Regions from separate parts of the Homo sapiens genome. Here regions 1, 3, 4, 5 and 6 are each linked to region 2. The links are contacts of gene promoters, found by promoter capture Hi-C in blood cells and fetal thymus (Javierre and others, 2016). All regions are on one chromosome and are shown on one strand. Each heading gives the region's core, a stretch centred on a gene start or on the middle of the fragment in contact. The rest is flanking DNA. Distances are from core to core; before and after follow the strand shown. Region 1 has its middle 37 kb from the start of LINC02257. Region 2 holds the start of DUSP10 (dual specificity phosphatase 10). Region 3 overlaps LOC124904518 (a long non-coding RNA gene). Region 4 has its middle 100 kb from the start of LINC01705. Region 5 holds the start of LOC124904518 (a long non-coding RNA gene). Region 6 overlaps LINC01705 (long intergenic non-protein coding RNA 1705).

Region 1 (5,010 bases), core at 1,326-3,825, 270 kb after region 2:
TGATATTCATATACCAAAACCAAAAGTTAATTCTTGCTGAAAGTAAAAAGTAAAAAATCAGTCAGACTACTTTACTGACATAGAGGCAAATAACCAACTTATTTGTGTAATTTTATTTTTTTCATTTCCAACAGTTTATTTCAGCATCACACAAATATAGCAACTTCCCCATTCCCCCCAAAATGTAAAAGGTTTTCTGACAGAGTCAATAACATTTACACTTATGAAACAAACTATTTAGGTTGGTGCAAAAGTAATTGAGGTTTTTGCAATTAAATTTAGGTTGGTGCAAAAGTAATTGCGGTTTTTGCCATTACTTTTAATTGCAAAAACCTCAATTACTTTTGCACCAACCTAATATTGTTAAGTTCCACTGATAGAGAAGCAGAGGCTTGTATACAAACTTTCCAAATAAATATTTCTCATTCTAACAAGTGATTGGGTGTGCTTAATTAAATAAAGAATAAGAAAACAGAATAAATCGTGGCTGACATCTTTAAAGGTTGCATTCTGGCATTTGTTTTTTGATGGGGCCATTTATTTATCCCTTCTTGAGCTGTCTAGCTAGAGAACTCTGTATTTCAGCAGTGAGTGACAGTTCTCCCATCTGTGCTTCTTATTTGCCTTCTATTCAAATAAACAAAATGCATTGCAGATACTGGTATATATTTTGCTTTGGACAGGTTTCTACCCCTAACTTACAAGCAGACTTAGCATCTACCAGGGAAGAAGAAGGTTGTGGTGTTTGGAGTTGTGTGGTTGTAGAAAATTTTGTGAATGGAAGAGGCTCTTTTAAAAAGCTTGTTGTCTAGATAGCCTTGCTCTTTCAAGTATGGTCATGGAGATTGTGAATCATGTAGACAGAAGTCTCAGGTGGCGTCACAGACCTATGGAATCAGAATCAGTGCTTTTTAAGGTGACCCCTGGATGATTCCCCTGTGTATTTAAGTTTGGTAAGCACTGCTCTGCAGAACTCAAGACAAAAATATTTGCATTCTGGATAAACAAGAAAGCTTTACACAGAAGCTAGTCCTATCCACTGTTTTCCCCTCATCCGGTTACACTACAAATCTCACCCTAGACTCAGACTGCAGAAGAAAGTTGCTAGATGCCAAATGTTCACCTCCTTGTAGCTAATTTCCATGTGCACAGGAACTTGAGCTATCTCACCAGGCCATCAGAACCAGCAGGTCCAGTGTTCAGGTAAGGGTTCCTAGCAGAGGTTTGCAAATAAAATCATTCACACAGACTAATCCTGGTTGGAGGGAAATGCACAAAGTCTAAGGAAAATCAAGGTGTAGAAAGGGGGTGCCCAATTTACACATATTTAGCCCTGTTAGCTTTCCCGGGCTTACTCAGCTTTCTTTCTCTTCATTGAGTGTCATCTCTTCATGATCAGGATGACAACTTACAAATATATGCACGAAGAGCCAGTGCTTCAATACTGAACAGGAGAAAACGACAATACTGCTGTTCCAAAACCGAAATACTCCATTTGGAACTGAATTGCTTTCAGAGTCATATGCTCACAACCAAAAAAGGAAACACTCTTAACACTCAAATATTTGAAAAAAAAAAAAACCACCATAATTACTAGCTCATGAGAAAAAAATACAAATTTCATATAGTTCTCAGTAGACCTGGAGACTTCCTTTCTTATACAATGTTCCATGACTGCCACAAAGCCTGTGAGATACTTGGGGTATTATCACCCTCTCCATTTTACAGGTAAAGAGAAAGGCCCTGTGCTGCTCACCTTTGTGACAAGCCTTCCATTGTGACAGCTATCAAGGGGCAGAACTATAACTACAGCCAGGCTCCATGATTCCAACACAACGTTGTTTTCTCCTCTACACATGGTTTGACTATAGGAAATTGTCACTTTGCACTTTGAAAGACTGCTGAAGGCTAATCATATGACACTATGCCATGTGATAAAATTGCATAGTGGTTTGGAAACTACAGTCAATATAGCCCCATCACTATGTTACTGCCCAAAAGATGCGTCCATCCATTTTCTTTTGTTTTATTTTTGTGATAAGAACACTTAAAATGAGATCTACCCTCTTAACAAATTGTATACAATATACTGTGATTAATCATTGGTACAATGTTATAAAGCAGATCTATAGAGCTTATTTATCTCGCTTGACTGAAACTTCATGCCTGTCAATTAGTAACTCCCATTTTCCCTCCCCCCAGCCCCTGGCAACCACTATTTTACTTTTTGATTCTATGAATTTGACTATTTTAGACACCTCTTATAAGTGGAATCATGCACTATTCATTTTTCTGTGACTGGCTTATTTCACTTAACATCATGTCCTCAAGGTTCATCTGTGTTGTGGCATATTACAGAGTTTCCTTCTTTTTTAAGGCTGAATATATATGCCATTTTATGTATGTACAACATTGTATTTATCCATTCACCTATCAACGGACATTTAGGTTGTTTCCACATCTTAGGTATTGTGACTAGACTGGTGTTGCAATGAACATGAGTGCTAATATCTTTCTAAGATCCTGACTTTAATTCCTTTGGGTAAATACCCAGAAATGGGATTGCTGGATCATAGATCCTATGGTAATTCTTTTTTTTTTTTTTAAACAGATAGAGTGTTTCTGTGTTGCTCACACTGGTCTTGACCTATTGGCCTCAAGCAATCCTCCCACTTCAGCCTCCCAAAGCGCTGAGATTACAGGTATGAGCCACCACGCTCGGCTGTATTTTTAGTTTTTAAGGGCACCTCCATGCCATCTTCCAAAGTGGCTGCACCTGCTGAGACACTATGACTCTCGCCAGTGAAAAAAACAACAAAAAATTCAGCAAAGTGGCTGTAACATTTTGCGTTTCCACCAACAGTATACAAGGTTCTAGTTTCTCCACATCTTCTTGCTTCCTGTTTAAGCTGGAACTTCCTCAGGTCTTCAGGGTTAGGTTTAACTATCCTGTTTTTATTTTTTATTCAGTTTTGGAACTGTGGCTCACGGTATTCTGTGTATCACATCAAACTCTATGGACTGAACCCCCTCTAATCCTATTTTACTTGTGATTCTTCCCAGAAGAACCTACTTTGTTGCAGAAAAAACTGAAGCTAATGTTCATGGCCTTGCCAGAGCTGTCTGCAAAATGCACCAGCCAAATGGAATTATGCAAAGTTTATGGAAGAGGCCCAATTAAATTCAAAAAGCTGGTATTGTGTTCTCAATTGTGCCAACATGGTGCTAGGCACTGGGGATACCAAACTAAGTAAGAATACAGCTTAAACAAATAATGACATAATGTAAGTAACGTGGTATAATAGACATGAAGTATATGGATATCGGGGGGAAAGGTATGAATGGTGATCCTGAAAAGTTAGATTGGAGGGTAGGCAAACAGTTGAGCTAAGCCTTGAAAAGTTAGTAGGCAAGTGTACCAGGCCAACACGAGGACGTATTCTATAATCTGTACCATGGCTGGTAAATATGGGTACACTTGGCACCATTCCCATTACTGCACCCAGGGCAGACATTGCTAAATGAATGTAATGTTCAACCAATACATGGTCTCAGAATCTTTATTAATGGTGTTTCAAAGAGCACTACTAGTGCATCCTAAATGGTGTGCAAGGTCTTTGCCATCTGCCCTTGATTTAGAGCACCTTCTTCAAGTTTCCTTGTTTTGAACAAGCTAATCATAGTGACATGATTCAATAGTATTCCAAGACAGCTTCAGTGAGCCAAAGTTTGAAAGAATTTGTCTCCTTTTTTAATGTTTCCTTCCAGGTGGAGGGAATGCAACTCATGTGAAACATCTGGTCCTCTCTGCCAGTGTTATTTATTCTTCTCTGGTAGAGTGAGACTAAACTATCTGATTGTTAAATTTGCAAAGAATAACTTGTATGTACATAGCTCATCTCCCCATATTTTCCTTCTGGGAAGAGGAGGTCTCAGTATCTCCATTCTGTATGTCTTTTCTGAGTAAGTGTTTGTCTTGGTGCAGCCTGCCCCACCCAGCCTGAATGCCATTCAGTGGGGCTCTTTGGTTTTTACTCAAAAATATATCCTTGGGGAAAATGAGACAGACAAAGTTATATTTCAGAAGATTGTGTGTAATAAAGAAATAAAAGAAATGTCACTGGGGGAAGAAGAAGGCAAAGCTTCTTTCTGCATTTGTGTCATGTACTTTCAAGCCAAAAAGGGATCATTAAGTTTGTTTACTCCAAAGAATCATGGGTAGTTCTAGAGGTAAGTCTGAAAGAACCGAGAATCTCAAGGAAGAGCTGATCAATCCAGAGCTTTGGGGTTTGGCAGAAGGAATGGGGTTACTACACTTCAAAAGGTCAGTTACTGCCAAGGCCAAGTATGTCCTTCTTGGCTAGGGTCATGTGGCTAACATTTTCCACTGTGGTAATGCCACAATATGTACACAATTTCCCCTGGCTTTATACCCTGGAGTTGAGAGTGTGCAGATTGCTTTCATAATGGCCCCCAATATATCATGTCCCGTTGTGTCCATACGTCTTTGCATTGTGATTTTTGTCACTCCTCCCATCAAGAGATGAAAATGATTTTCTGACCCTTTGAATGTGGGTTGACCCTATGACTTGCTTTGACCAATAGAAAGTGGCAGATGTGATATTGTATGACATTTGAGGATAAGACATATGAGGCCTTGAAGCTTCCATTTTCTCCCTCTTGGAATTCCCATCACTATGTAAGGAAGCCTGAGAGAGACTACCACATGATGAAAACCATGTAGAGAGAGTCAAGCTGCCAACCAGTACCTAAGCTCCAAACATTCGAATGAGGCCATCTTAACTTCTTCAGGCCCAATTAAACTGCCAGATGATTACAGTCACACAGACAACCTCAGACAACAGCAGAAGAACCACCCAGCTAACCCCAGCAACTCAAAGAATCAGGAGAAATAATAAACCATTGTCTTAAGCCATTATATTTTGTGGAGTTTTGTTATAATGCAAAGGCTATTTGGTATAAAGAGGGTATTTCTCTGCAGATATAAAC
Region 2 (4,960 bases), core at 1,511-4,010:
CCTGACACAGGGCTGCCCACCCCACTTGATGGACTTAGAGAGCCTGTATTCTCATTATTGTTGACCATCTGGTTAGCAGGGCAGGTGGTAGAGGTTCCGATGGCAGTGGTGGTGGTGCCAGCGGCAATGGCTTGGGTTTGGGCCTGATTGTCCTTGTCGTAGGTTGCCACAGTGCAGCAGCTGGCACTGCTGCATCCACAATTCAGCGAGCGGGCAGAGCCGCTGGATGAGGGCATATACGTCAGATTCGCAGCCTTGAGGGACACAACGGTGGTGGCGATGACAGGAGGGTGGCTGTTACTGCCTGGGTTGGCAGAGCCAAGGTAACTAGAGTCTAAACAAAGGTTGAGATCCTGAGGTCGGACGGGCCTAGATAGTGCCACTACTACCCTGTCGTCTAAAGGAGACGGAGGCATGAGGAGGCTGAAAACTGGCAATTCAAGAAGAACTCAAGACAGTCTGTAAAGAAGGGGAAGGGGGAAAGAAAGAATAAAGTCACGTGACACAAAAGGCAGTCTCATCCAATCCCTGGGAAAGACCTTTGCATCCCTCTGAGCAAAGTCGTCCTAATTGCCCTTTATCATACCATTATCAAAACTTGAAATTCATTTTTATGTATTCAAAGAGGATGCAAACCTGAGGGCTCCAATCAATTTGGTTGCTAAGTCTAAGGTTAAATTTGGATGTAATGTTGTAAATGTTAATGAACAACCTTTCCTGGACCTACATAAAAGTTCAGCTGTAGAGAAGGTATAAGCACAAATAATTAGAAAAGCTGAAGACAGAAGGGAGGCTCTTAAGAGGCATCTATTCTGAACCTCAGCTCTCGGGCAGAAGTACACTGCAAACATCTGAGAAAGACCCATTTGTCCACCCTTGCATGCTTGCCATTTAATTCCCTCACTCGCTGCAAAGGCAAAGGGGTAACCAAGAGCACTGGCATGGTTCACAGAAAGGTACAGCAGCTAAATATACATCAGGGTGGATGTCAACTTTCTGCAAATCCCCTTAAGTGAATCTCTTTAACTTGGAGCTATTCTTGCCTTCCATTCTCTATTGGGGTCCTTTGAAAAGCACAACATAGTCATACTAAAACCTCACATGTTGTCTTTTGGCCTCTTATAAATTAATCTGCATTTCCCCTTTTCACTACTAACTGGTGTCCTAAAACGAAATCTCAAGCCATGGAGCCAGATCTGGAAACCTGGAAACCCCAGCCCCGGCAAATCCCTCACCCTTTGCTCTCTCACCTGCCCCCGCCCTCATTCCTGCCTGGAAAGGACAACTTGGGCTCTCCTCCCCTCTTCATCTCCCTGGCTGGCACAGACTGTGCATCCTAGAGCTTCTCTCAATGGGAGGCAGCCACGTTGTATAAGGTTTCAATCCCATACAGATATCCCCCCTTCAAGAGTACTGATTCCGTAAAGAGGACCTCCCAATTAGCCTGTACTCGTTGAAAGGGACAGTGAATTGTTGCCCACCGGATCTATCTCTGATTTCAGAGTGTCTGCAAAAAGACAGCTCCTTCCTCCTGTAGGCACAGGGGCACTCTACAACTCAGGCTTGCTAACTCTTCTTCTTCTATTAGACATGCACATAGCAAAGACGCCAAACCCCACGCCAAGAGACGCTCACCTAAACGAACTTTAAGAGCTATCAGGAAAAATGCCATCTATCATCCGTCTACACACGACCGTCACCATTCTCATCCGTCTACACACGACCGTCACCATTCTCTGACACAGAACCAAAGTGTCACAGGCGGAATCCACACTCACGCGCGCACACGGGGCACGCACCCATCACGTCGGCAGATCTCCAACGACTCGGGTTTCTCTCACCCACCTTTGGATGGGAGCGAAGGAGTCAACCCCCCTTCCCTTGCGTAGTATTTTTTCTGAAGAGCGAGTTCTATTCCAGAAGCTATAACTGTTTCCCGGTTGGACCAAGCGGTGAAAGTCTTTGCTATTGTGTTACCTGGTAGGACACGTCCAGGATCAACATACCATTTCTTCTGAGAGGGACGCATAAGCGTGTTCACAGAGACACGCGCTGGGACCCCCACCTCCACACAGAGTTCAAGGCTCACACACACACACACGGAGTGTATAGAGAGACCTGCATCCCTGCAGCAGAGGGTCGGGCGTACATACTGCCCGTGAAACCATCCAGTCTGGCCCAGAAAATCTCCCAGAGAAATACTGAGCTATCCCCTCTCCCTTCCACCACTAGGCAAGAGCTGGAGAGAAAATTAAGTGGTTAGAGAATGCTTCTTCCCCATTCCTGGAGCACTTAACATCCCCCCGCCCCCCGCTTCACTCCTCGGCACACAGCGCACTAATGAGCCCCGAGCATTTAAAACTGCCGCAAAGCATCCCAACAAACCTCATTTTTTCTTCGCCCCAAATCCAAGTAGACTGCAGGGAGTAAACGCACAGGGTAGCAGGAGCCAACGGCCGGAACCTTATAACCCTACCTGCTGTAGCTCCTCCGTCAGCATCGCATCTCTATCTTTCTGTCTCTGTCTCTCTCTCACACACACACAGATACACACACACAAACACACACACTCACACTCACACAAGCACCGCCTTACAATCCTCCACCTCCAGTCCCGGGCTCTCAGGAGTAGTCGCGGTGACTTCCACTTACTTCATAAATAAGTGTATTCCTCCACCATCTGGCGCTCCTCTTCAGCTATGGACTCGCACATTCAGCCCCCATTCACTCGGCTTCATTGATCTCCAGCAGCAACATAGTTACTTTCTCTTTTGCTACACTGTAAATGTAAGGTTCTGAGGGGGCGGACTCGCCGCCGACCGACGGCGGGTTGGGCCAATAAGAATCCGGAGAAAGCCGACCGCTACCTCACAGAGCCCCGCGACCAATGGGCAGCCTAGGGGGCGGGTAAGAAGGCGTGGCCTCATCTCTTTAAGGAGGGTTTATCCGAAGCTGCTCTGGGTCCTCGGTGTTAAAACACGGGCGGTGATGTCATTGGCAACCAATCAAAAACTTAAAAGAGCCAGCCGGGGCCGCGCGGAGCAGCTGCTCTCTATTTACATGTAAACCGAACCGGCAGGATGCAGTTAACCCTTTACCAGGCTGAAGTGTCAGCGGGCTGGACGCGCTGCTCCGCTAAAACTGGCTCTTCCCACTGGACGGGATCCTCCAACACTCCCTCACCCGGGGACAAACCACGCTATTTTTCCTCCTTACTATGGACAGATGATCAAAAGTATCGGAGTAACTTTCTAAAGGAAAGAGACTGCGATCACCGTCCCTAGTGGGAAAGCCGGGTTCTCTCCGAGTCGCTCGAGGTGACTTGACAAACGCTAAGCCAAAATTCGCGGACCTCGCCGGGTCTTCTGCGCTAGGACCAGCATGAGCGCGCAGCCAGGGGCGACGCTTCCGCTCCGAGCCGCGGCCCGGGGCCACGCGCTAAGGGCCCGAACTTGGCAGCTGACCGTCCCGGACAGGGAGGCCCTTCAGCCTCGACGCGGCCTGCGTCCTCCGGAGGGCCCTGCTCCGCCCGGGAAGCGTCCGCCTCCCGCCCGCCCGCCCGCAGATGTCGCTGCCCCTCTGGCTGTCCCGGCCTGACCGCCGCGCGCCGCCCTGCTGCTCACCTACTTCCGCGCCACGGTCACGCCCCTGCCGTCCCCAGGCTAACCCTCCCGGGGCTCGACCCAGAGCACTAAGGCGGCGCCACTGAGGGCTGCTCGGAGGAGGAGGCTTGAGTCGACGCCAGAGGCGGCAAGGGACGCGCCCTGAGCAGCGGTGCAGAGGCCAATCCCCTGGCCGGGCGTCCTGGGGCCCGCTACGCGCCCGCTGCCCCTCCGGGTCTGGGTCCCCGCCCGCCGCCGCCCCCCTTTCCCGCCTGGCGCGCTGGGTCCCCGCGCCGTGCCAGCAGCGCGCAACCCACCCGCCCCACATGCCTCGGCCGCCACCCCTCGGTCCCGCACGGCCCCTGCCGAGGCCAGGACCGGCAGCCCGGCGCTTCTGGAACAGCCGCAGCTGGCGGAAAAGAGCCAGAGCCGAGTGCAAATAGCTAGATTGAATGGGGCCGGAGGAGCGTGGAGGAGGTGACGCCGCCTCTCCCCGCTCCCCTGACTTTGGCCGGCGCCAGGTAGCTGGCCGCAGCTCCTGATCAGGGAGAAGAGTAGGGGGCGGGGCAAGCCGCCCCTTGCCTAGTCCGGAAAATATTCTCATTAGGGAAACTGCAGGAAAGTTGCCCTGGGATACAAAAAGAAGTGGAGATGAACAACCCCAGATGAACTGTGGAGAGTCTACGTCCAAGAACCCTAAAGAAGTAGAGCTTTTTCTTTTCTTATCTGTGAGAGAAGGGATAAAAAGTGAAATAATGGAATAATACATTATGAGCACTAGGGAATGTTGGGCTATCGTTTTTCTCCCTTACCTGATTGGATGGGGTTTGGAGGTCTACTTCAGACTCCAAGCCTAGTAGTATACTGAGTAGCAGGGGCATATTCATGTAATTGTTTTCAGGGCAGATCTGAAATCAGGAGGTGTCAGACCATAGCTAGCAAGTCAGCTATGCTCAATGAGCTGTGAAGAGAAATCCCCTTGGGCACCTCCACTTACATGCAGGCACATACCCCCCAGTCCAGCTTTTCACACCAGTGTTACGACGGGCATCACGTACACATCCGATAGTCTTACATAGGAGAGGATTTTGTGTAACGTCTGTTGTCGAAAATAGTCAAACTCTGTAAAATATTTGAAGAGATTTATTCTGAGCCAAATATGAGTGACCATGGCCTGTGACACAGCCCTCAGGAGGTCCTGAGCACGTGCCCAAGGTGGTTGGGGTCCAGCTTGGTTTTATACATTTTAGGGAGGCATGAGACATCAATCAAATACATTTAAGAAATACATTGGTTTGGTCCAAAAAGGCTGGACAACTCTAAGGAGCGGGTGGGCTTTCAGGCTATAGGTAAATTTA
Region 3 (5,026 bases), core at 1,591-4,090, 360 kb after region 2:
CAATCTCCAGGACATTTCTCAGTTTTGTAAATCCCTCTGTTGCATTTGGCACTGTTGTCTTCTGCTGAGTCTCATTCTGGCCATGTTCAATTTCCCCCGGCCTGCCAATATGTGTCAGCGCCCCTCCCTGGAGTTCCTCCAGCCCTGCCCCACAGCTCCTGGCTCTTACTTTCCCTTGCTCTTTGATTTCTGACCTCTTGGTGTCCTGCACACTTTGGCTACTATTCCCCCACCTCACTCACAGGATTGTCACATACCTGTCACAAAGAAGGCTCTTACCTATGTAGCACATAATGAACACAAATTTCATGCCCACACATACACCCAGGTGCACACATGCATGCACAGGTATATGCGTGTGCATACAAACATATATTGACACGTCCATTAGCTCACTTCTTAGCCCTCGTCTGTGTGTGTGGACTTCCCCCCTCTGCCTTTCAGCACATCTGGCTCTTCCCCGCAATTCCCCTCCTTGCCTCTAGGGGGCAAACTGTGCCTCAGTCTCAGCCTGATGTTGAAAAAGTCCTCAGTTAAATTCTCCCCTCCCTTTAATTTAGGTGAGATTCACTCACCTAAGTTAGTTCTAGGTCCCGCCCCATCTTCTCTTCCCTTAAAGGCAGAGGTGCCTCAGGCGCTGTCTTTGACTTTCTCTGGTCTCTATCCCAAAGTTATCACTTTGTCTCATAGAATCCCATGGCTTCAACTATCCCCTACATATATTCATATTCCCCAAAAGCAAACCTGGAGAAGACCTGAATTAAATCTCTAGTTGTAGCTTCCACTGACACTGAAGTCTCAATATGCCCCAACCCAACCTTTTTATCTTCTCACTCAAACATATTTTACTTTGCATTAATGACACTAGACCCTAATTACTCCTGTGAGAACTACTAAATGTACTTGTGATTCTCCCCTCTCTCTCTCCCCTCAACTTTCATTCATTTGCTGAATTCTGAGGATTCTCCCTCTGCAAGAGTTCTCACCTCTGTCTCTGCATTACCACTGCCTACTGCCACAGTTGAGGCATTGGGCGTTTCTCGTGTGAACCGTCACAGTGAAATGCTAACTGACCACATCACGATGAGCCTTTCTCCCTCAACTCAGCTGCCATACTCACCTGCTAGACTTGTCTTTCTAAGCCCAGTATGAGGCTGTATGTCACTCTTTGTATTTTCCACTGCTGACAACAATATCTGCACAAGATTACCAGCAGACTGCCTACATCTGAATCATCCAGGAGGCTGGCTTACAATGCAGATTTCTAAGCTCCACTTCAAGCCAGCTGAATCAAATCAGTAGGTCCCAGAAATCTACATGTTCAGCCAAGTCCCTTTATAAGCCTTCAGCCCACTACAGCAGGAGAGCCACTGGCATAGAGCTTCCTCTGTAGGGCATTTAAAGCCTTTCACTATCTGGCCCCTGCTTACCTTTTAATCTGATTTTCGCCAGTCCCTTCACCCATGCCCTCATTCTCCATACTTACCCTGTGCCTTTGGGTGTTTCTCTCCCTGAAATGCCCTCTGCCTTTTGCTGCCAGATCTTACTAAAGCTTAGCCCTAAATTCACATACTCTGTGGCATCGTCTGTGATGCCTCTGGTTATATCCAATTCCTACCTCTTCAGGACCTCTGTTACCCTCAATAAAACAGGATTTGTTCAGCTGGTGAGTAACTCCACGAGAACACAGGTTTTGATCAATAAGAGTTTTATTACTTGGTGCAAGTAAGGAGGATACTGGGAGTGTTCTCCAAAGCAGTGTCTCCCGGAGAGAAGGGGACAGGAGGGTTTTATGCGGCAATGGAGAAGGGTGCATCATGGCAGGTAGAGGAGGGGTCCCAGTTGCACAGACATGATGAGTCATCATGCCAGCATATGGGTTGCATGTCATGGTAATGCAGGTATAGCTCCTCCCAGGGTGGAGACTTTGGCATAGTAATGAGGAAAGTTCACTCGAGTTCATCTAGAAGTTGCCAGGATCAGTCAGGACCTGGTTTAAACCAACAAGGTGACTGCATTCCACACAGGCTGCAGGGCAGGAGGCTGTAAAACAGACTGACCAGACTGACTGCTCAACTTGATTCGATTCCTATCATCCCTGGAGACTCTCCCTGTCTGTTTATACTCTTATATACTTTATAACAGTGTATCTCTGTGCATTATAGTAACTGTTTTAGTACCCCTTTCCTTTTTGGCCAAATACCTCTTAAGGGCAAGAACCAAGTTTTACTTATCCTTTTACCCCAGTGTCTGACACATAGTCAGTGCTCAATAAAATGATGTTTGAATGAATGACTGCATAAATACTGTCTTCCACCACTGCAATTCAAACATCAGACTCCATGGATAGCAGCATTTAGAAAAACACTTATATCTAACCATAATGATTCTGACAGGTTCCTGATAACTCTGGAAGTGTTATGCATTCCATCAGACTGAGAGGACCCAAATTTCATTTCTGAAATTCAGAGGACATCACAAGGAGACAGTTCCATTTAAATTTATCTTTCCAATTAAGGGCATAGACACAGATTCAGTTAGTTTGTACCGAAAGAGCCATTCATAGAATAGCCAACAGCTAAGGCCTAATTCTCAGACTAATGAGTAACTAAAGATATTTTTGAAAAAGCTGAATGTCGACAATATGACAGGGACACCAGAAAAACAAGGCTGTGGATGGCACTTGCCATCTGTCATCTGTCCAACAGTTGATGGCATTATTTGAATAACCCCTGAGTTTGTGGATTAGTCTTGTGGACCAGAGATAGGAGTGGAGGGGTTAGGAAGAAGGAAGTCACAAGGTCCCCTCTTTTCAAGAGTTTACAGTTCAGTTAGAACCACCTAAATGCTGCATGTGGCAAAAACCCAGGAATAAAAACAAAGAAGTATGGTAGAGACTGCACATTGACCTAATGTAGAAACAAAGCCCACAGCTGCTAGGGAAAGAAAGAGATTCGAGATTTATTTGTAATGAGAATTTTGGCACTGGAAGAGCCTACAGAGACCATGTAATACAGCAGTCTCACTTCACAAATGAGAACTAAATGCCGAGTGAAGTGACTTTTCCAAAGCCATTCGAATTGTTTATTTAACCAGGAAACCTTTCAGATAGAAATAAGATATGCCTGGAAAAAGAGAAGGTAAGTTTTTCAGAGAGCTATGTTGGAGGAGGGAAAAACTATGTGAGGAGAAAAAGAGAAAGAGGTTTCTGCAGAAGGAGAAGAGGCAAATGAGCAAGTTTGGGAGATGAAAGCAAGAATTTCTAGTGCAGTGCAAAGAAGAGTGATGAGGAGTGAGACTGGGGTGTCACGTTGGAGGTGGGAACCAACCTTTATGAATGGAAAGTCTTAGCTAGAAGAAGGAGGAGGGTTGCTATGAACCCAACTGAGTTCCAGCCCTATATAATGAATTCCTGTGCTGTTAGAATCCAACCTCACTCAATCACAAATTTTTGAAGCTGGAAAGACCTTGAAGGAAAACTAAGGAACTCATCTTAGAGATGAATAAGCCCAGGTTCAGAAGGAGGCAGGGCAAGTGTGTGGTCTTTGGAAACATGCTGATTCTAGTTTTAACACTCATCAGCCATATGTCTTTGAGCCACTTATTGAAGCTCTTTGAGCCTCTGTTGCCTTTCCTGTAAGAAGGAGATATATTCAATTCATAGTGTTGTTATAAGGGTTAGACTATCATGCATCATTAGCACCTGGCCTAGTGTGAGCCCATAAATGGAATTCAGTGAATGCTTCTTCTGCCTCCCTTTGTGCTAAGAGATGAGTTGCCTTGCCCAGGTCATCAGCTTATGCATAGCAAAGACAAGGCAGAAACTTTAATGTTTAAACCTGAAAATCCAAGCTACAGCCCTAAAACAGGCTGCCCCTCTTGCAAACTCTACCTAGGCTCCCACCAAAGTACTTAGGATCCTTTTGAAAAGGGGCAGTTCCGGAATTGCCATAAGAGACCAGGAATTCACAATCAGAACTTCATTTGCTTTCCTTCCTGAAGTTTGTCTTTAGTGAGCTCACAGCCTTGACGAATGAAGAAACAAACCCATCTCAAACAAACAAAAAACAAAGAGGGCAGATCAAAGACAAGTCCTCTATGAAAGTATGTCAGCTGGGGATAGAGGATAAAAGCTTTTTTGTTGCTGAATGAAAAAGCTCTTTTGGCTTCATGATTTCCTAGGGATTATAATAATAATGGCCTGGATTATCAATACAATTCACATCTGAATGTGCTTCACATTTCTCAAAACCTGAAGATTGGAAACTAAATTGTTGAAAGCCAATCAGTCCTGGCCAGGTAGAGGTGCAAGGTAGACACAGAGACTCTTGAGCTGTAGGAGGTTTTATCAATATGACAGATACCCTTTGAGGGATGAGCTATTGGCATGTGGGCATTGAAGTCCTGGACAGAATGTAAATATTAAGACTTTAAAATAATAAATACAATATTCCCCAAACGAATCTTTTTATCTTCTACCTCAAACACAACTAGTGCTCTTATCAATGACCTGGGACAGTGCTTTTTTTTTTTTTTTTTTTTTTTTTTGCTTGTCTTTAGTAATGTACTGCAACTCTGCTCAAGTTTGTTAAGCATTTCTCAGGTTCCAAAGAATTTTCTGACACTAGCATTACAAAAGTGACTAAGACGTGGTCCCTATTTTCCAAAATTTGTTTAAATCCCAGCTCAAATCATGTCACTCCTCTGATCTAAACCCTGCATTGTTGCTCCATCTCACTCAGACGAAAGCCAACATCCTTGCAGTGGCCACCGGCTCCCACCTGATCTCCTTGGCCCTTCCTCACTGACCTCATCACATACTACTCTCTCTGTTGCTGATACTGAATATGCCAGGATCCTCCTGCCTTTGTTAATGAATGCATTTTTCTTTCAGGAAAAGAGATGAGCTCTATGAGGAAATGCAAAAAGCAATTATAATTTCAATTGTGGAAAAAGAAAACTCAGAAGTCAACTTAAGAACTTGCCAGTCAGACTGCTTTTTGAGGGAGCTGTCCGATGAGCTGGT
Region 4 (4,438 bases), core at 604-3,103, 420 kb after region 2:
CTTAATCTCATCAGAGTTCAGGCCTAGTCTAAGACACACTGTCCTAACACACAGTGCCCCTGTCTCCTTACAAGGACAATCTTTGAAAATGCTCCACAAATTAATAATAATAACAACTTCTACTCTCCATTGAGTACCTCACTATGTGACTGTCTACGCTTCTATGCATTTAGGTACATTTCCTCATATAAGCTTGTCAGCAGCCCTCTGATGTGGATATCAGGAGATCCAGTTTGTAGATTGAGAAACTGAAGCTTAGAGAAGACAAGCAGTTTACCCAGTTTGCCCCTTAGCATCCTGCTTCCAAATCCATGCAACCAACCATTAATCTTCCTCTGCTCTCTGCCCACTTGGACACCAGAGTCCAGGCAGCCAGTGTAGAAAAGGCCTAAACTTTATCTCCCTGCCTTTCCTTCATCTTTATCTTTCCTGAGGATCCATATAGGAAACAGCGAGCTAGAGAGTTAAGCCTGGGCTTAGATGCCCCAGCAGGGAGCAGTTAGGGTGAGCAGTTATTTCTGATCTTTTCTGTGTTCTCTGCAGGTAAAGGCCTAGCATCTCATGATTTAGTGTGGTGGTTCTCAAAGTATGGTCCTGGCACAAGCAACATCACCATCACCTGGGAGCTTGTTAAAAATGCAGAATCTTGGGCCATAACCCAGATATACTGAATCTGAAATTCTGGGGACAGAGCCCATTAATCTGCATTTTTAAAGCCCTCCAGGTGATTCTGTTGCACACTAAAGTTGGAGAACCCCTGTTCTTCACTAACTATTGTTTAGTGGAATAACAAAAAAAAAAAAAAAAAAAAAGGAGAAAGAAATTAGCACTGAAGCCAGTAGAATGCAGAAGGTTGGGATTTTCAAAACCAGTCTTGTAGCTGTCATATTTAGAATCACAATATCCTATCTAGGCACAGTAGCTCATATCTATAATCTCAGCATATTAGAGGGCTGAGGCAGGAGGATTGCTTGAGGCCAAGAGTTCAAGACCAGCCTGGGCAGCATAGTGAGACCTAGTCTCTAAAAACAAAAATAAAGATAATTAGCTGGGCGTGGTGGCATGTGCCTGTAGTACCAACTACACAGGAGGCTGAAGTGGCAGGATAGCTTAAGCCCAGGAGTTTGAAGCTAGACAGTGAGCTATGATCATGCCAGTGTATTCCAGCCTGGGCGACAGAGCAAGACCCTGTCTCTAAAATGAATAAATAAATAAAATCACAATATTCTAACACTTAAAAGATAAAAAATAAATTCGAGGCTTTCTAACATAAAGTGTTCATTTCACACTAGAGAAAACTGAGGCCCAGAGAAGCAAAACATGTTGTCCCTTGTCACACAGCAAGATTGTGGCAGAGCTTTACAGCAGAACCCAGGCCTCCCCTTTCCAGTTCTAAGTTATCTTCTGCAATCCAACTTGCCTTCCAATGTCCAAATACACCCTCAATAATTCTGGCTGCTCCCATATCTGTGCTTATAACTGTCTGATAGTCTATGCATGGGGAAAAAAAAAAAAACTTTCTCCTTTTCTGAACATAAATATAAGTAGCAATTTCTTTTCTTACATTTCTACTCTGCATCAATATCATACAGTCCCAATTTTTAAAGCAATCTATCAAACATTTTATTCAAATTAGTATACAAATTTTGGTTCTTCTTTCAACTCATGGTGGGGCTAGGATTTAAATTGTTATATGATTTTTTTATGCATTTACATAATTTTTTCCTGACGAACTCAGAATTTTGTTTCTTTATCTCTCTGGAAGATAATCATCTCAGATTACTCTAATCATGATGTGCCCAGCAACACTGTTTGATTCTCTTTGCTGAGCTGTGGGAAGTCACCTCTCTAAAACTGTTCACCCTCAGAGCAAAATCCACTCTTTCCTACTCTCATGTAGCAAACCAGATGCCCAAAAATCCAGACAAAGTGAGTTATTTGTGTCCCAGTTAAAATGGCTTATATCCAAAAGACAGGCAATAACAAATGTTGGCAAGGATGTGGAGAAAAGGGAACCCTTGTACCTTGCTGGTAGGAATGTAAATTAGTACAACCACCACGGAGAACACTTTGGAGGGTCCTCAAAGAACTAAAAATAGCTGGGCACAGTGGCTCACGCCTGTAATCTCAGCACTTTGAGAGGCTGAGGCAGATGGATCACCAGAGGTCAGAAGTTCGAGACCAGCCTGGCCAACATGGTGAAACTCCGTCTCTACTAAAAATACAAAAAAAATTAGCTGGGCATGGTAGCAGGCACCTGTAATCCCAGCTACTCGGAAGGCTGAGGCCAGGGAATCACTTGAACCCGGGAAGCAGAGGTTGCAGTGAGCTGAGGTCACGCCACTTCACTTCAGCCTGGGCAACAAGAGCAAAACTCTGCCTCAAAAGAGAAAAACAAAACAAAACTAAAACTAAAAATAAAGCTACCATATGGTCCAGGTATACCATATATACCACTGCTGGATATATATCCAAAAGAAAGAAAATCAGCATATCAAGGAGATATCTGCACCTCTGTATTTGTTGCAGTGCTGTTTACAATATCCAAGATTTAGAAGCAACTTAAGTGTCCATCAACATTCAAATGGATAAAGAAAATGTGATACATATACACAATGGAGTATTATTCAGCCATAAAAAAGAATGAGATCCTGTCATTTGCAACCACATGGACAGAACTGGATATCATTATGTTAAGTGAAATAAGCGAGGCACAGAAAAACAAACATTGCATGTTCTCACTTATTTGTAGGATATAAAAATCAAAACAGTTGAACTCATGGACATAGAGAATAGAAGGACAGTCATCAGAAGCTAGGAAGGGTAGTGGGGTGCTTGGAGGAAGAGGGTGATGGCTAATGGGTACAAGAAAATAGGATCAAATTTACCTAGTATTTGATAGCACAACAGGGTAACTATAGTTAATAATAACTTAATTGTGTACTTTAAAATAATGAAAAGGGTAGAATTAGATTGTTTATAATATAAAGGATAAACGCTTGAGGGGATGGATACCCTGTGTTCCATGATGTGATTAATATGCATTACATGCTTGTATCAAAATTTCTCATGTGCCCCACAAATACATATATAGCCACTTAGGTACCCCCCAAAATTAAAAATATTTTTAAGTGAGTGATTTGTGAAAAGAACTCAGTAATCGGCATTCAAGGTGGTGGATAGTTTTCAGAATTGTAATATTTCCATCCAAATGTTTGGAATCTTATAGGTGGGTTATTGGCTGAGTTGTTTTTGTTGTACTTAATATCTTTAATTCTTCCTTTCTTGCCAAGTATTTGAGAAAGCGGTCTGTTCAGAGACACTCCCATTCACATTTAACTCTAGAGATGCTCTGGAACTCTCAGAGCTGGGCACCTTCCCAATAGAAGTGGCTCCCCAATAGAATCACTCAAGCTCTACCTTCACAAGGGCCACTTAGTTTTCAACCTATTTTAAGCTTCTTCATTTTTTTAAAAAAAGCAATTAAGCACTTGATATGCTACCTTTTTAGGAGGGGATACTGGGAAGTCTCAGAGAAATAATGTGAATCCAGGCTCTGAGAGCTTGCAATCTAAAACCAATAGCAAGAATACAGACACCAATAGGAACAGAGAGAATAAATGGATGTCGAAAACAAGAATGCATTGTGCTGCTTGGCACTCTAGAGAATATCCTGGCTCGTAGCAGTGCAAATTGCTCTTACTTTAGAAAAATAACCCAGCTGAACATCTGCTTTGTGTGAAAGGTTAAGCTTTCCTCCAGGCCAGGAACTGGAAGAAGTCCTGAAGAAGGAGAAAGCAGTAGGGCTAAATTTTCTCTGCTTGAGGAAATTTGGAGTTTCAGAGCTGTTCAGGAACAGCTGGAGGCAAGAAGAGGGGGACGAGATACAAGAAGGATGTGGGGAACTGACAGAAAGGTTAGAGAGGTCCAAGCAGAAGCTGAGGCACCAGCCAACAAGAAATGCCCTAGTCTTGTGTTACTGAGAGTTGAAGAGGTAAAGCCTAGTGTGGGTCAAGGTGGGATGTTAGAAAGGATGGCACAGAAAGCTTTCATGCTAAAGCCAGGTGGGTCATTCATGTTCTTGGGTCCAGGGTTAATTCATACGAAGTCTTTGGGACATGTAAGAAGGAAAGCGATTCCTCGATTCCTCGGGCCAGTTCAATTGACATTGTAGTTAAAACCAATTGTTCTCTTTGAAAACCCTAAAATGATATGCCAGAGCAAAGCTGGTGACTCCAAAATCTAAAGAATGTTTAAAACTACAGGCCAGGCACAGTGGCTCATGCCTGTAATCCCAGCACGTTGGGAGGCCAAGGCAGGTGGATCACCTGAGCTCAGGAGTTCGAGACTAGCCTGGCCAACATGGTAAAAACCTGTCTCTACTAAAAATACAAAAAAATTACCCGGGCGTGGTGGCATGTGCCTGTAATCCCAGCTA
Region 5 (4,795 bases), core at 1,168-3,667, 380 kb after region 2:
ATCTGAAGTTGTGGTATATTTATACTATAGAATACTTTTCAACAATAAAAAGGAACAAAATATTAATACACACAACAACATGGAAGAATCTCCAAACCGTTATGCTAAGTGATATAAAGCAAACACAATAAACTATGTAAGCTATGATTCCTTTTATATGAATTTCTAGAAAAGGCAAAGCTCAAGTAACAGAAGGCAAGTCAGTGGTTTCTTGGGGCCAGGCATGGAGAGAGGGATTAATTCCTAACAGACTCAAAAGAACTTCTCAGAGTGAGAGAGATAGTCTATATCTTGACTTTGCTGCTGGTTAAAAAAATGCACACAATTCCAAAATTTATCAAATATACATTTAACATAGGTGAATTTTACTGTGGGCAAGTAATACTGCTATGGACTGAATGCCTGTGACTCTCAAAATTCATATGTTGAAATCTTAACCCCTCAAGGTGACGGTATTAGGAGCTGGGGACTTTGGGAGATGATTAGATCATGGGACCCTGCCCTCATGACCTCATGGTTGTGATTAGTGCCCTTATAAAAGAGACCACAGAGGGCCTGGTGGCGGGCGGCTGTAGTCCCAGCTAGTCGGGAGGCTGAGGCAGGAGAATGGTGTGAACCCGGGAGGCGGAGCTTGCAGTGAGCCAAGATCGCACCACTGCACTCCAGCCTGGGCGACAGAGTGAGACTCCATCTCAAAAAAAAAAAAAAAAAAAAGAGACCACAGAAAGCTAGCTGCCATGTGTGGTTACCTTGAGAAGAGGTCCATCTGCAAAGGAAACAGGCCCTCATCGGACACCAAATCTGCCAGCACCTTGACCTTGGACTTCCCAGACTCAAAACTGTAGGAAATAAATTTCATTTGCTTTATAAGCTATCCAATCTATGATACTTTGTTCCTATATGTTATGTTTAATGTATCTGCCTTAGTCTTAATGTATCTGCCTTAGTCTAAACAGTCTGTATTTAAGGCATAATATATAGTAACATTAGAGTAAACATAGTAACATAAAACGCATAACAACAACAACAAAAACAGCTGGCCAAATGAATGCCAGAGAGTTGCCTTGATAGTGAAGAAACTGGAGAGGAAAGGCCAGGCTGGCCAGGGCAACCTCTATCCAGGAGTCAAATACCTAAGCCTGGGCCACATGTCCTGCTTCTTTCACCCTGGTTTTGGAAGTTAGTTTCAACCTCATCAACAACAACATTAACAGATTCTAAATCCTAAAGTATGCCAAACAATAAATCTTTTGTCTCATCTCGGTTAGTTCTTGCTTTGTGATTTTTTAAAAATTTTTAAAAATGTTTTAAAAATTCGGGCTATTCATCCTTTCTAAATGACCTGTTTACAAGTCTGTAGGTGGGATGGCTTCCATTCAGAAAATTTAATGTGTTATTATGCTATATGTTTGAAGGAGTTATCAATGGAAATGTTAGTTATGTATCAACCAAAGACACCACAGAAAGGAATAAAACACCTGCAGATATTTGTTAGTGCTGAGTAAACATTTGGTAGGATGGATATTTTGAGATCTGGACCCTAGGCCCAGTTTCACCACAGGCAGTAGTAAGCAGAGTAATAAGCAGAGAAAAAAAGAGTCTCCTACTCAAGATGAGCCCTACAGTCAATAATTCCAAAGTACATGAAGAAAATGAATATTAAGAAAAATAATTCACTCATCAATTGGAAAACAAAATCATGCCCAATTAAATAAAAAATAAAGCAATATCAAAATAATTTTAAAATAAACATTTGAAGAGGGAGATATGAATCAAGAACAAATGGGTATAAAATAGAACCAATTTTTAAATCCAGAAATTGCGAAAATGTAGTAATTAGAATTAAAGTGCAAGAGATGGTATAAACTCTAGGCTGGATACAGTCAGAAAGAGATGTAGTGAATTTGAAGATACAACTAAGGAATTTGTCCTGTATATCAAACACAGAGATAAAAGTATAAAAATGTGAAGGAAAGGGGGAACTTAATAAGCCTTGATACTAGAATGAGAGTTTTCAAAATACACCTGATGTGAATTCCAGATGGAGAGAATATGAGGAGTGGTGAGAAGCAATATTCAAAAAGACACAGGCTGAGAATTTTCCGTAACTGAAGAAAGGCAGGGGCTGGCTGATGGAAAGAACACAGTAAGCCTTTCAAAGTGCTGAGAAGAAATAACTGTGAGCCCTGAATACAACAGCCAGCTTCAAGTATTTAAGATTTAAAAGATGAAAATTAAAGACCTTGGCTTAATATTTACAAAAATATTTATCTCCGATATAATTTATTATATACTCACTTGCTAAGTAATAAAAGCATAAAAATTGTGAACTGAATATACCACAAATTCATTACAGTAGTTGATCTGGAAGGGAGAAAAACTGGACTAAGGAGAACATAGGCAACTTCGGTATTATAGATAATACTTTATTTTTAGGAAATTAAAGCATATACTGTACGACCAAATGTTACCAGGGTACATGGATTTTTACATTACTTTGAATTTTTAATTCTTTTTTTTAATAGAAAAACATTTTAAAGGAAAACACTACAGATCTGGAATAGTTTTGAGGAAAGCAGGAGAATTCATAACAAGTTCTTCCAGGACAAGGGCCTTGTCTTACCTTTGATTCCTCTGCATTTGGCAAAGTGTTTATCACACAGGAGATGCTCAAAGATTGTCTAGTAAGTGAATAAAAACCTACCTAAACACCTAATTACATGGGAAAGCCAATTAAAGCTAAAGACGAGCTTGTTCTTGGACCTATTTCTAATTCAATCATTTATTCATTCTCTCAACATGCCTCCCCAATAAATAGACTAGGTGCTGAGGTCACATAAATAAATAAGACATGGCCCCTGCTCTTACTGAACCCGTGTATAGGTAAGTCCTATTAAGTAACCTAATAGGACATACAAGGAGAGAGTGACCATAATAATTGGGTACTAAAGAGTCCAGCTCACCAGCTACATAGTTTAGTTTCCTTCTAGGAAGGTCTTTTCAAGCATTTTCCTTTTTTCTCTCAAAATTAGAATCCTATAGGATGCCAACGACTAGTAAAACTGCAAGAAATGCAAGCAGGAAAGGACATGGAAGGAGGAGATAGCCAAACCAATCAAGTTTCTCCCCTCTGAGAGTCCCATTGCTTCCCCAAAATACTGAAAGGAAACTGCAGGCAAAGAAAAAATATATTCCATTTCTTGGTCTAAAAAGTGTCATTCTGGCACCCACTGCCTTCTGGAGATAAGCTCTGCGCTGGCAAGGGACAGAATTATGCCAGGAAATTGAGGATGTGCGGGTATTTTCCCAAGCTGTATTAACACTTCTCATGCTTTGCAGAGATTAGAACTTTTATCACTGGCTCACACACATTAAAGAAATTGTATTAAGCTGTAATTTTTTAGGGCAGAATGGACCAAAATTGTTCCCTTTCTAAGGATGCTGTGAGATGACATGGCTGAATATTGACAAGGAATCCAAACCCTAAGTCAAAGCTCTCCCACTTTAAAGTGGATGCACCTTTCTCATAATGGCAAGACTCTTGAAGGAGTGGAATGGAAGAAAGACGTCACCATTTCCTTTTGATGACAGGCCTCTGGACAGAAGAGAAGCAGGGGTCACCAAGATAATGCCAACTGAAAAAGGTAGTTGCGGAAGTTAGGACAAGAGCATGCAGCTATGAGAGGTAAGAACAGGGTTAAGAGCTGTGCACAGTGGCATGTGCCTGTAGTACCACCTACTCAGGAGGCTGATGTGAGAGGATCCCTCGAACCCAGAAGTTTGAGTCCAGCATGGGCAACATAGCAAGACTCTGTCTCTTAAAAAAAAAAAGAGAGAGAGAGAGAGAGGGAAAGAGAGAAGGGGTTCAAATATCTGAGCTGGCAAGCCGTGGGGAAGGGTGGGAGTCAGAGAGAATAACAGACAAAATGTACAAAAGGCCAGACAGATGGGAGTAGGGGCAGGCACAGACCAAGAGGCTATGATGTGAGAACACCATGATTTTGATGTGGCCATTTATTGAAGGCTTGCCATTGACTACATTTCTTTCCAGTGCTTTAAATCCATGATCTCATTTATTCCTCATCATTACAGGAAGCAGCTATTATAATTCTATATTCTACAGGTAAGGAACATCCACATCACAGAAGTCAAATAGCTAGTGTGGAAGTCAGTCCCTCTAACTCCGCAGCCCATGCCATGATGTGACCCAGGCCTCCATGCTGTCCCACCCCACCCCCACCTGACAGGGAGCATCCACAATCTTGCCCAAGCAGAGGACGGTCCAGGGGCAATCAGCCTGAATCTTTGGGTTGAGACTGACAACACAACAAAGCCTTCCAGGGCAAGGACAATGTGTTGGTGTTTTCTATTTCCCCAGCACCCAGTCTGGTGGAAGGTCAGTACCCAGCTGTCATTGTAGGTGCACCCATAGAACCCTTGCTGGCAGGAGGACAGGTAAGAAAGTCTAGGCCATGGGGCTGCTGTTGGTCCAGGCTGTGGTAGAGAGCTGCCACTGCCAGTTACCCAGTCTACCCGATGGCTGGCTGCCTGACTGAACTCCTACAAATCAGAGATGTTATTTAGTGCTAAAACAAATAAAGCAGGCTTTAACTACCCGTGAAGAACAATTAGGCATTCCCAGAAGAGCACCAAGGTTTGTAATCCAACTAGAAAGTGGGGCTACCATCTGTCTTTATGATTAGCCCTTTTCCAAGCAGGAGAGAAAAGAGTCATTGCAGGGGTTGGCTCAATCCACAAGGAGGAGCTCCAACTAAATGTGGGATGGTGCAGGAGA
Region 6 (4,526 bases), core at 587-3,086, 310 kb after region 2:
CAGCATGTCCCCAGGGCCCAGGCAATAATAGAGGGAGGCTGAGCCTGAGGCTATGGAGAGGTGGACAACACAGGTCCAGGCTAGACAGAGCCACCACTCAGCTTTGACCCATAGTTGCTATGCAGGAAAGCAGGCAAGTGATGCCAAGTTTTCTGCTTTTTCTAGACAAACCAAAGAATCCATCTCCTTCTTTGGCACAAAATCTCCAAAGTTTTATATTTTGGCAAATAATTCAAATTACTTGAACAGAAGCAAGAAGGAAGGAAGGGAAAGAGGGAGGCAGGGAGTAGGGGGAGAGAGAAAGAAAACCCTTAGGCCCACCGCCTCGGCATGCTGGGTGTGGTCAGGCACTGCAGCCTCACCACCTCTGTGCTGATAATTAGCTACCAGACAAACACAGGTTTAGTCCGCAGCTCCTACATCAACAGGTAGTGAGGTCTCCTTAGGTAGTGGAAAGTTGTGTTAAAGGCAAATAAATCTCAGGCCCCAAAATCACTCAAGCCCAACTGCTTAGGGCAAATCTGCCTCCCGTTCTATTCAAAGTCGCCCCTCTGCTCACTGAGATAAATGCATATCTGATTGCTTCATTTGGATAGGCTCATCAGAAGCTCAAAAGAATGCAACCATTTCTCTCTTACCTACCTGTGACCTGGGCGCCCTTGCACCACTTGGAGTTGTCCTGCCTTTGCCTCAAGTTGTCCTACCTTTTTGGACTGAACCAATGTACCTCTTACACATATTGACTGGTGTCTCGTGTTTCCCTACAGTGTATAAAACTGAGCTGTGCCCCGACCACCTTGGGCACATGTCATCAGAACCTCCTGAGGCTGTGTCACAGGCGTGTATGTCCTTAACTTTGGCAAAATAAACTTGCTAAATTAACTAAGACCTGTCTAGATTTTCAGGTTCACAGTTGGAGACTCTATACCCCTTTATTGCACTAGTTTGAGCTCCTTCAGGCCAACACTAGACATTTGGCTCCATGTTAAGGGAAGGACACAGACCCCTTCACGTCCGAGGAAAGGCGGGTGCTGAGCCTTGCCGCTCTCATCATCCAAGGACTTGCACTCTGCTTCAGTGTCTCGCTCCTGCTGTCTCTGCCATCAGTGGCAGACACAGCTAACACTGCGACAGAGCCAGGGACCTAACAGGCTTACTTCAAGGGGCTAACCTGGGCTGCCAAGAACAATTTCTCCCTGTAACCTGTCAGGAGCGGACAAGGCTGCTGGAAGCTCATGTAACTTTTCACCACATGCCGTTTTGAAATAACTCTATTCCATGGGGAAAACCTTCAGAAGACTTTTCTTTGTAAACAGACTTGATGATAAAGACATGCTAAGTCCTAAAACCCAGAGGCTGTCAAGGATTTTACATTCTACCAATTTTGTCTTATCTCCTGGGCACTGTGGAGTTGAACAGAAGCTAGAGCTAAGTGCTAAACTCACTAGACATCTGCCAGCATCCGTCCATCACAAATGCGAGGGCCTCCCTGCCAAGTGGGCCACTCTCTCTGGTATAGGGAAAGATTCAAAGTTGTTATGAATGTTACCTGCAGATATTAAAAAGAAATGAGTTACACGTGTTTGTGTTTTCTGTTCTTACCTTCTCAGAAGTGAAATGCAGGAGCACACATATTGATCATGTAAATTTTTAAAAAATGATAATTCACACACACATTTGTACACAGAAGTCCAGGCAAAGAAAGATCAACATGTTTAGAACACTTACCTTCAGGCAGTGGAGTAAGAGATAATATATTTTTTTTTGCATAGTTGTATTTTATAAAAGTTCTATGATTGATATTTATTACTTTAGTCATAAGGGGGAAAGCAACCAATAAAGACTATGAAAGAATGAGAATATATGGTATATTAGTCTGCTAGGTCTGCCATAACTAAATACCACAGAGTGGCTTAAAAGAGCAGACATTTTTCTCTCACAGTCCTGAGAGCCATAAGTTTGAAATTAAGGTATTGGCAAAGTCGTTCGTTCTAGATCCTCTGAGAGAAAATCTATTCTGTGCATCCCTCCTAACTTGTGGTGGCTGCAGGCAAGCCTTGGTGTTTCTTGGCCGATAGATGCATCCTTCCAGTCTCTGCCTCACTCCTTACAGGGCATTCTGTGTCTCTCTGTGTCTTTATATGGTTTTCTTATAAGGCCCACCCCAATCCAGTATGACCTCGTCTGAATTTCACTAACTTACATCTGCAGAGACCCTACTTCCAAATCAGGTCATATTCTGAGGTTCTGGGTGGACATAATTTTGGGGATGGGGAAACACTATTCAATCCAGTACATATGCTTATAAAGTAGATGAATCCCCCCTGGGGATATTCAGATGCCCATTGACCCTATTAAGCCTTAATTCCTGAAAGTAGAGCTTCAGCTCCCAGGAGCATGTGGCCTACCTCCTCCTCAATCTCTGCTCTGGATGAGGAGTGGGGCCAGTGCAGAAGCAAGGGGTATAGACCAACAACATGACCCACAAGGACCACATCTGGTCCTGGTAAAGCCATGGGCCCCAGAGCCCTGGTGGGGCCCTGGGTGATGCTGAGAAGCCTGAGGATCACACACCTCCCTCACATAGTATTACGCCTTTGCAAGTGCGTGGGCATGTTCTTAGGATTAACCAATTACAAACTCAGTTTGAAGTGTGACAGTCATTCATTTTCTCCCTGAGTGGTACTGAAAGTAAAACTCCTGTCATGTGCGAGTCTGAGAAACATGTGATGACAAAAAGATTTCTTGTACTCAACAAGGTTGGAAATCACCATGCTACATCTTTTTCTGGAGCAGACTTCTTGTGGGATGAGAGGCTTTTATTGGGATGTAGTGTGTCTTGTGTCTTGTGTCTTATGTGACAGGCACCATGTACAGCACTTTGGGTCCATGTTTCTCGTAATCTTCAAATCAAACCCATGAGGCAATCATCCCATTTTTTAGATGAGGAAACAGGCTCAGAGAGGTTAGAGAATCACAGAGAGCCCCCAAATCACAAAGGTAGGAGCCAGCAGAGATGAGATTTGAATTTGAAGGTAAATATTTCTAAGACTTACACGATAGTGTTATTGGCTGAAGTGTGTCATTAACACTCTCTTTAGCACTGGATAAGCCATCAGAGACCTACACCCTGACACCATGTTGCTGTGCTCCCGACAGAATTTATTGTCATTCAGGAACACATCAGGGCTGTGGCCTCCAAGAGGGACTCTTTAATTGCCTTAGTAAACCCACTTCTTTTTTATGTGCAGATGCCACAGGGAACACCTTCCACTAAGTCTCTCTATGCCCAGTGCATGAAGCCCAGGGGAGACCTTCTGTAGGAGCCAAGTAATAGGAAGAGCTTGGCTTCCTCTAAATAATTGGTGTATTTTCTCCCTAGAGGCAAAAGGAATGGGGTAATCATTTACCCAGGTCTGTATTTTCTGTCCTCAAATCTGTCGGCTCAATCATAGTACTCTGGTTTAATTACCTTATAATCTGAATTTCTGCAATAAGATCCCCAGCCTGTACCCCAGGACCTGACCTACTTTTTCAATATTTAATTTTTTTGCCTTAATTTGTTTTAATTGATAACTTATTATTGTCTTGTATATTTTTTCTGATATCCTCCAGAAATCTTTTTTGTTTGATTTTTTACTCTCGTTGTTTTTATGTTAGTGTGGTTCTTACGCAGTAGGGGAAAAGGACTGTGGAGTCACTGACCTTTGCCATCTGCTCCTGCCAGCTCCTCTTGCCAGGGCCCCTCCAGCAGGCCAAGTCCCATATCCACCTGCTGGCTGCCCAGAGCTGCACACAGAGGACAAGAGCCCTCTGGCTCATTCATTGTTCACTCTACTCTTCCATCTTGAAGATTCTTAGGCTTAGGTCCTCAGGACACCAACTCCAAATGAGTTAATTAAAAAGACAAAGAATATAATTGTCAACAGAGTTCATGAGTTATCCAGCTTCAGGTAGTGTGTATTTCAACCTAAAAAACAAACAAACAAAAAAGAAAACTGCTAGTTTCAACAAAGGCTCCAGATTCCTCTGAAAATACACCTAACTTATGTAGGAAAATATAGAATCCTAGACAGGACACCAGTTCGTCAGTTTAACAAATGTGAGATTGAAGGGACTGAGCCACCAAGCTCTGCACTTTCTCAAACTGAAGCCAGACCCTCAAGCAGTTGTTAATTTTCAGTTTTTGTCCTTGACTCAATGGGAACACAAATATTCTAAAATGCAAGACCAGATAAAGTTGTGACAAGACATTAGGGGCTTGACTCCAGTTCCAGTTCAGCTGCAATATACTTACCATTCTCTACCTGTGCAAAGTACCCTCATGTTGTGTGAGTGAATTCCAAAGCCACTTTGTGACCTCTTCCGGCAAGGCCAAAACCATGTGGAGTGTAGAAGTGGGAAATGTCCTCTGCTCTGCTCCAAGCATGTGGCCTTCTGCCTGGGGCCAGAGGGAAGAGTCGGTCACGCCTAAGCCAACACCCACGGCATTCCACCATGTGGTAAGATCCCTCGGACTAAAACAC

What was found. Contacts are between HindIII fragments. The CHiCAGO score rates a contact against its expected background, and 5 or more counts as called.
Region 1: a fragment that was not itself captured here is called in contact with the fragment with the promoter of DUSP10 in region 2 in 1 of 17 cell types (M2 macrophages); the score reaches 6.0 in M2 macrophages.
Region 3: a fragment that was not itself captured here is called in contact with the fragment with the promoter of DUSP10 in region 2 in 2 of 17 cell types (erythroblasts and M0 macrophages); the score reaches 5.2 in erythroblasts.
Region 4: a fragment that was not itself captured here is called in contact with the fragment with the promoter of DUSP10 in region 2 in 4 of 17 cell types (megakaryocytes, M0 macrophages, M2 macrophages and 1 more); the score reaches 7.4 in megakaryocytes.
Region 5: a contact is called between a fragment that was not itself captured here and the fragment with the promoter of DUSP10 in region 2, in 1 of 17 cell types (megakaryocytes). The highest score is 5.4, in megakaryocytes.
Region 6: a fragment that was not itself captured here is called in contact with the fragment with the promoter of DUSP10 in region 2 in 1 of 17 cell types (megakaryocytes); the score reaches 5.1 in megakaryocytes.

What each region holds. Positions count from the first base shown.
Region 1 is chr1:222,012,729-222,017,738 of GRCh38, forward strand. No RefSeq gene overlaps it. Among named protein-coding and RNA genes, the nearest start is that of LINC02257, 37 kb to the left of the region's middle. The HindIII fragment of the contact is 3,129 bases long and covers 1,012-4,140 here.
Region 2 is chr1:221,739,329-221,744,288 of GRCh38, forward strand. DUSP10 (dual specificity phosphatase 10) reads right to left here and starts at 2,761. Exons shown (of 4, transcript NM_007207.6): 1 at 2,653-2,761; 2 at 1-459. The coding sequence starts at 416. RefSeq lists enhancers at 1,831-2,468, 2,469-3,106, 2,578-2,767, 3,098-3,297, 3,107-3,744 and 1 more and silencers at 1,748-1,797, 3,518-3,997. The HindIII fragment of the contact is 7,400 bases long and covers 1-4,960 here.
Region 3 is chr1:222,095,877-222,100,902 of GRCh38, forward strand. The region is part of intron 1 of LOC124904518 (a long non-coding RNA gene); the gene reads right to left. Among named protein-coding and RNA genes, the nearest start is that of LINC01705, 39 kb to the left of the region's middle. RefSeq lists a silencer at 2,898-3,098. The HindIII fragment of the contact is 2,581 bases long and covers 1,551-4,131 here.
Region 4 is chr1:222,162,123-222,166,560 of GRCh38, forward strand. No RefSeq gene overlaps it. Among named protein-coding and RNA genes, the nearest start is that of LINC01705, 100 kb to the left of the region's middle. The HindIII fragment of the contact is 3,203 bases long and covers 253-3,455 here.
Region 5 is chr1:222,120,044-222,124,838 of GRCh38, forward strand. LOC124904518 (a long non-coding RNA gene) reads right to left here and starts at 839. Exons shown (of 2, transcript XR_007066886.1): 1 at 750-839. The HindIII fragment of the contact is 7,998 bases long and covers 1-4,795 here.
Region 6 is chr1:222,054,709-222,059,234 of GRCh38, forward strand. It overlaps LINC01705 (long intergenic non-protein coding RNA 1705), which reads right to left. Exons shown (of 3, transcript XR_001738485.2): 1 at 4,298-4,526; 2 at 3,706-3,970. Among named protein-coding and RNA genes, the nearest start is that of LINC01705, 2.4 kb to the right of the region's middle. The HindIII fragment of the contact is 9,452 bases long and covers 1-4,526 here.